Regions from separate parts of the Homo sapiens genome. Here region 1 is linked to region 2. The links are contacts of gene promoters, found by promoter capture Hi-C in human tissues and cell types (Jung and others, 2019). All regions are on one chromosome and are shown on one strand. Each heading gives the region's core, a stretch centred on a gene start or on the middle of the fragment in contact. The rest is flanking DNA. Distances are from core to core; before and after follow the strand shown.

Region 1 (2,500 bases), core at 1-2,500, 750 kb after region 2:
AGGCCTTTGCCATGTGGCTACAGATGTTTGACTAAGAAAAAGATTCTAGGGCTGGGCACAGTGTCTCACGCCTGTAATCCCAGCACTTTGGGAGGCCGAGGCGGGCAGATCATGAGGTCAAGAGTTCAAGACTAGGCCGGGCACGGTGGCTCATGCCTGTAATCCCTGCACTTTGGGAGGCCAAGGCGGGCGGATCACGAGGTCAGGAAATCGAGACCATCCTGGCTAACACAGTGAAACACCGTCTCTACTGAAAATACAAAAAAATATTAGCCGGGCGTGGTGGTGGGCGCCTGTAGTCCCAGCTACTTGGGAGGCCGAGGCAGGAGAATGGCGTGAACCTGGGAGGCAGAGCTTGCAGTGAGTTGAGATCGTGCCACTGCAATCCAGCTTGGGCGACAGAGCAAGACTCCGTCTCAAAAAAAAAAAAAAAAAAAGTTCAAGACCAGCCTGGCCAACATGGCGAAACCCCGTTTCTACTAAGAATACAAAAATTAGCCGGGCGTGGTGCCTGTAGTCCCAGCTACCCGGGAGGCTGAGGCAGAATTGCCTGAACCCAGGAGGCGGAGGTTGCTGTGAGCCAAGATCACACCATTGCACACCAGCCTGGGCGACAGAGCGAGACTCCGTCTTGGGAAAAAAAAAAACACAGAAAAAGGTTCTAAGCAAAACCATCAGGCAAAGTCCTAAAGGAACTGGAAGTAGCAACTGTGACCTTAGGGGAAGAAAAGACAAGGCCTCAGGCAATGCCCATGGGCCACCGCTGGCTGCCCTCGCTGTGAACAATGCCCATGGGCCACCACTGGCTGTCTGCTGTGACAGGCGCGTCTAACAAGTGCTGGCAGCTGTGACAGGCAGCAGAGAGGGGCCAGATCCACCACTCCCACAGTCCTCAGGCGCCAAGAAGCCACGGGGCCAAAGAGCGCGGCAGAGCAGACGCCAAGAGGACCCTTCTCTGGGTCCAGAAATGCCCCCCAACTGGGAAATCCAGGCATCTGGTCCCCCGAGTTACATACCTGTGGGCTGTCATCTTTCTCTTCCTCCATGGCCAGAAACAGAAAAAACAGTCAGGGGCGAAAAGCAGACAGCCTGAAGCAAACAAGGGCACACCTCTACCCGCTCATGCTCACACCTGGACACTTTTCCCTGGGTTCCTTTCAAGTCAAATTATGTTTCACTGAAAGGAAAATCCTGCTGAAAAAGTCTGTTCTCCAGGAAGAAAAGCTGTCTTTTGAGAAGTGTCTGTCATCTGCTAGGAGCCACCTCCTTCCCTCTGTAAACAGCCCTCACGTGGCTGTCCCGGAACCCAGAACAGCAGCCAGATGGGGCGTATCCAAGCAGGTCAAGAGGAGCCAGGCCCAGCGCGGCGGGGATGGGGGCAGCGCTGCCTTCTGGAGAAGCACGGCTGGAGGGGAGGTGACGCTGGCGGGGCGTGGATCCGGGGTGTGGGGATGCAGCTGGGGAGGAGGGTGCAGCTGGGGAGGGGGTGGATCCGGCGTGTAGGGGTACCGCTGGGGAGTGGGTGCAGCTGGGGAGGGGGTGGATCTGGGGTGTGGGGGTGCCGCTGGGGAGTGGGTGCAGCTGGGGAGGGGGTGGATCCGGCGTGTAGGGGTACCGCTGGGGAGTGGGTGCAGCTGGGGAGGGGGTGGATCTGGGGTGTGGGGGTACTGCTGGGGAGAGGGTGCAGCTGGGGAGCGCGTGGATCCGGCGAGTGGGGGTACCGCTAGGGAGGGGGTGCAGCTGGGGAGGGGGTGGATCTGGGGTGTGGGGGTGCCGCTGGGGAGGGGGTGCAGCTGGGGAGGGGGTGGATCTGGGGCGTGGGGGTGCCGCTGGGGAGGGGGTGCAGCTGGGGAGGGGGTGGATCTGGGGCGTGGGGGTGCCGCTGGGGAGGGGGTGCAGCTGGGGAGGGGATGGATCTGGGGTGTGGGGGTACCGCTGGGGAAGGGCGTGCAGCTGGAGAGGGGATGGATCTGGGCTGTGGGGGTGCCGCTGGGGACGGGGTGCAGCTGGGGAGGGGGTGGATCCGGATTGTGAGGGTGCGGCTGGGGGGCGACTTCCGCGTGGGGTGAGAGGTCGCCTGCGAGGGTGACCGGGCAGGAGGGCTCAGTGCGCAAGCCGGACGTGCTGGGTCCAAGATTATTGATTAATTTGGGCACCGCGAGGGCTCGAGTCCCCCCACACCACTGCCCGGCCTGCGGGGGAGCACAGACAGCCCGGGCCCTCCCGGCTGCAGGTCCCGGGCTTTCCCCGCGCGGTTGCCGGCTCCGCCCAGAGGAGCCGCGCCCGGCGGAGGGGTAAGAAAGGCAGGGTCGCGGCGTCAACGCGGCGGCCGTCTCGAGTCCAGGGCCCGCGTCCTCCCCGACCTCCCGACGCCACCTCACGGCCTCAGGGGGACTGGGCTCCCGGGAAACCGCCGGCCACCTGGCGGACGAACACAGGCAGTGGCGGGCAGTGGAGACGCCAGGGACCACCGCGCTGAGAGCGATCACTCATCCGCCAG
Region 2 (3,714 bases), core at 351-2,850:
CTACCACGCCCGGCTGATTTTTTTTGTATTTTTAGTAGAGACAGGGTTTCACTATGTTGGCCAGGCTGGTCTCTAACTCCTGACCTCATGATCTGCCTGCCTCCGGCCTCCCAGTGTTGGGATTACAGGCGTGAGCCACCGCACCTGGCCTATACTTGTAGTTACAAAAAACAAACCACTATAGCAAAGCTATCCTGAGCACGTATGTACCTGGTTCTGGGCTAAATAATTCCTTTTACACTCAATTCATCCTGATGGCAACCTTCTGAACGAGCCATCATCTTACAAATGGGGACACAGAGAGATTAAGTAACTTTCCCAATGTCACACAGCTAAACTAGCTGGTCAGAAGCTGCCTTGGCCTTGAATCCTGACTCTCTGACCCCAAGCCCATGTCTTGAGCCCCTCTGTTTCACTTCAAAGCAGAACTGTCCCCAAACCTCCCCGGGTTTCAGTCAGCCTTTTCTGCAGAGCATTTCATCACAAACTCTCTCAGTCTCTCTGGGTTGTTGGACCCTAGGTGGTGAAAGAGTCCACCAGGCCAGCACTGTCCACTCCCTGTGAAACACCTTTCATCACCGTTGTGCCCAGCGGGGAGTGGGGGAGGTGGCTGGGGCCACAGAGGAGAACCTATCACTGTTCTCAGGGCTCTTAGTCGGGGGATAAAAGCTCGGGGCAACTGCAGCCCACTCTGTAGGGGCCACAAGAGAACCCCATTCAACACAGGTGCTGGCAGGATACCCCATTGAGCTGGACAAGCTGCAGAACCTCGTGGTCAACTACTGCTCAGAGCTGTCGGATATGAAGATCATGTCCCAAGATGCCATGATGATCACGGATGAGGTCAAGGTGAGCTCAGGGCCCAGGGCTGGGGGCCCCCCAGGGCCAGCCCTCTTGGATCTTCGGATGGGGTCAAGGTGAGCTCAGGGCCCAGGGCTGGGGGCCCCCCAGGGCCAGCCCTCTTGGATCTTCGGATGGGGTCAAGGTGAGCTCAGGGCCCAGGGCCGGGGGCCCCCCAGGGCCAGCCCTCTTGGATCTTCGGATGGGGTCAAGGTGAGCTCAGGGCCCAGGGCTGGGGGCCCCCCAGGGCCAGCCCTCTTGGATCTTCGGATGGGGTCAAGGTGAGCTCAGGGCCCAGGGCCGGGGGCCCCCCAGGGCCAGCCCTCTTGGATCTTCGGATGGGGTCAAGGTGAGCTCAGGGCCCAGGGCTGGGGCCCCCCAGGGCCAGCCCTCTTGGATCTTCGGATGGGGTCAAGGTGAGCTCAGGGCCCAGGGCTGGGGGCCCCCCAGGGCCAGCCCTCTTGGATCTTCGGATGGGGTCAAGGTGAGCTCAGGGCCCAGGGCTGGGGCCCCCCAGGGCGGGCTCTCTTGTGTCTTCTGGCCAGGGTCTCTCAGGAGACCCCCATGCCCACACTGCCTACAATCCCCAGAAGGATCCAGTGGCCAGCCCGGCCAGCCTGCTCTGCTCACCCACTGGACAGAGCAGGTCCCATCCAGCACAGGAGCCATGAAGTAGAGGAGAGGGAGAGAACTGGCCGGGCCAGGGCGGGGGTCACCTATTCACCCAGTCTGTGCCAAGGTCCCTGCAAGGCTCTGGGGATACAGCAGGGACCGGGACAGGCAGACCCTGTCCTCCTGAAGTGGGTGGCACTCATCCAGTAGTCCATGAAGAAATGCCACACAGCCCCTGAGCCAGCTCAGCAGAGACAGGTGGGGTGGCAGATGGCTTTCCAGGAAGACAGTGCTTGAGCTGGGCTGAGGGATTGAACCCGCAAAGGTCAGGTGTGGCCAGGGCTAGGGAGGAGGAGGTACAACTTGGGAAAAGGCCCTGGGCTGGGAGGGGTGTGATACATGGAGCAGCGTGTGGCCAGGGCAGTGGAGGCTGCAGAGGCACAGGCCCCAGGAGTCCACGGAGGCGGCTGGGCTGGGGGCCCAAGGACTGACCTGGAGCCCTGGGAGGAGGTGGAGGAAAGATGTGACCAGGTCTGTGCTTCAGAAAGGGTGTACTCAGGCTGCAGGGACTGGAAGGTGCCAGGGCAGAAGCGCTGATCACCTGGGTATACCCGGGGTGGAGAAGGGGTGGCCAGGAGCAACGGAGCTGAGAACTCCTCAAGAGGCAACCCCACTAAGCGCTGGCAACGAGAGTGGCGAGGGTGAGAGCAGTGTCTGGGGTGCGTGAGCAGGGGTTAGCAGATGACGGTTTTAGCTGCCCAAGGGCACGCTGGAAGAGGCCAGGTTTTGGGGAAGAGGATGAATCTGTCTTCAGGCAGGCTGAATGCACTTCCGTGAGTTCTAGGTGGACCTGGCCAGGAGGCAGCTGGGGGCCAGCGGCTGGAGGGCAGCAGAGCGTCTGGGCTGGCACATGCTCTGAGGCATGGGCAAGGAGGGCCGTGAGCTGAGGGGCCACGGGCACAAGTGGTTTAGGAAAAGGGTGTGGCCATTGGCCGGGGATGCAGTTCCAAAGTCTAGTAAGGTGAGCATGGCCAACCGCCCGCTGGCTTTACTGCCATTAGGGGCCTTGTTGAGACAGCTCCCCAACCCTGTGCCCACCCGCATGTCCCCAGAGGAACATGAGGCAAAGGGAGGCGTCCTTCATCGAGGAGCGCCGGGCAAGGGAGAACCGGCTCAACCAGCAGAAGAAGCTGATCGACAAGATCCACACGAAGGAGACCAGCGAGAAGTACCGCCGGGTAAGCCCCAGGCCAGGGCCTGGCTGGCTGCCCATCCCCATGACAGCTGGGTGGACACAGGCTCAGGGCCACCACTCAGGGCCCACTCCCTGCCAAGGATGTCTCATCCCTTCCCCGCCCCCACCTCCCATCAGGGCCAGATGGACTTGGACTTCCCCTCGAACCTGATGAGCACGGAGACCCTGAAATGTAAGCGCTCAGCTCCCCACCTGCCCCCAGCCAGGGTCCCAAGGAGAGGCTGGCACTGATTCAGGCCAACGGATCAAGTCACCCTGAGGCCAGGTGTGACATGTGGTCGCCAGGGTGAAGGGAAGGACAGGTCCCTGCCTCTCCCTCCAGAGGCTGAGAGCCTGTAGCCAAATGTGGCCTCAGAGATGCTGGCCCCAGCACCCAAGGGCCCTGCACCAAGGGCCCAGTCCCCAGTGACTCTGCAGAGGATGAGCATCCTGACCCCTAAGCTGCCTCTGAGAAGCACCACCGGGCCCACAGTGCTCACAGTGCTGCGCCACTCACTCCGGGTCCACCTCTGCTCTGGGGCTGCCTGGGGCGTCCCTGCAGGGCTGGGCTGAGGAGGGAGCAGGTTGGGGCGGGGGCAGGCATCTCTGAAGGATGCCTGTGTCTTGGGTGGCCGCCCCAGCAGCTGGGCAGGTACAGAGGTGTCTGACAGCCTTACACAGAGCCCCTGAGCCATCCCTGCATGCTGACTGCCCCTCCCCTCTGCTCTGCCAGTGAGGAGAAAAGAGACCTCCACAGCAGAAATGGAATACCAGTCGGGCGTGACTGCTGTGGTGGAGAAGGTCAAGAGTGCTGTACGGTGCTCTCACGTCTGGGTAATGCCCCTGGCGCTCCCAGAGAATGGCAGGAGGGTGGCTGAGCCTCTCACGTCTGGGTAATGCTCCCTGGCACTCCCGGAGCATGGCAGGAGGGTGGCTGAGCTGGGCTGGGGTCTGAGGCACTCTGAAATGGACACACAAAGTGGCAACTCCCTCGGCCGCCCCAAATCCTTTTATCTTAATCCCATCTG

The links. Contacts are between HindIII fragments. The study calls those that stand out against the background at their distance.
Region 1: a contact is called between the fragment with the promoter of PNPLA7 here and a fragment that was not itself captured in region 2, in 1 of the 25 tissues and cell types used here (spleen).

Annotation. Positions count from the first base shown.
Region 1 is chr9:137,549,152-137,551,651 of GRCh38, forward strand. PNPLA7 (patatin like domain 7, lysophospholipase) reads right to left here and starts at 1,251. Exons shown (of 35, transcript NM_001098537.3): 1 at 1,017-1,251. The coding sequence starts at 1,046. RefSeq lists an enhancer at 360-861 and a silencer at 2,050-2,500. The HindIII fragment of the contact is 18,703 bases long and covers 1-2,500 here.
Region 2 is chr9:136,801,938-136,805,651 of GRCh38, forward strand. It overlaps CCDC183 (coiled-coil domain containing 183), which reads left to right. Exons shown (of 14, transcript NM_001039374.5): 6 at 727-849; 7 at 2,565-2,690; 8 at 2,825-2,879; 9 at 3,420-3,520. It overlaps CCDC183-AS1 (CCDC183 antisense RNA 1), which reads right to left. Exons shown (of 5, transcript NR_024580.1): 5 at 1,990-3,647. Among named protein-coding and RNA genes, the nearest start is that of RABL6, 4.2 kb to the right of the region's middle. The HindIII fragment of the contact is 7,702 bases long and covers 1-3,714 here.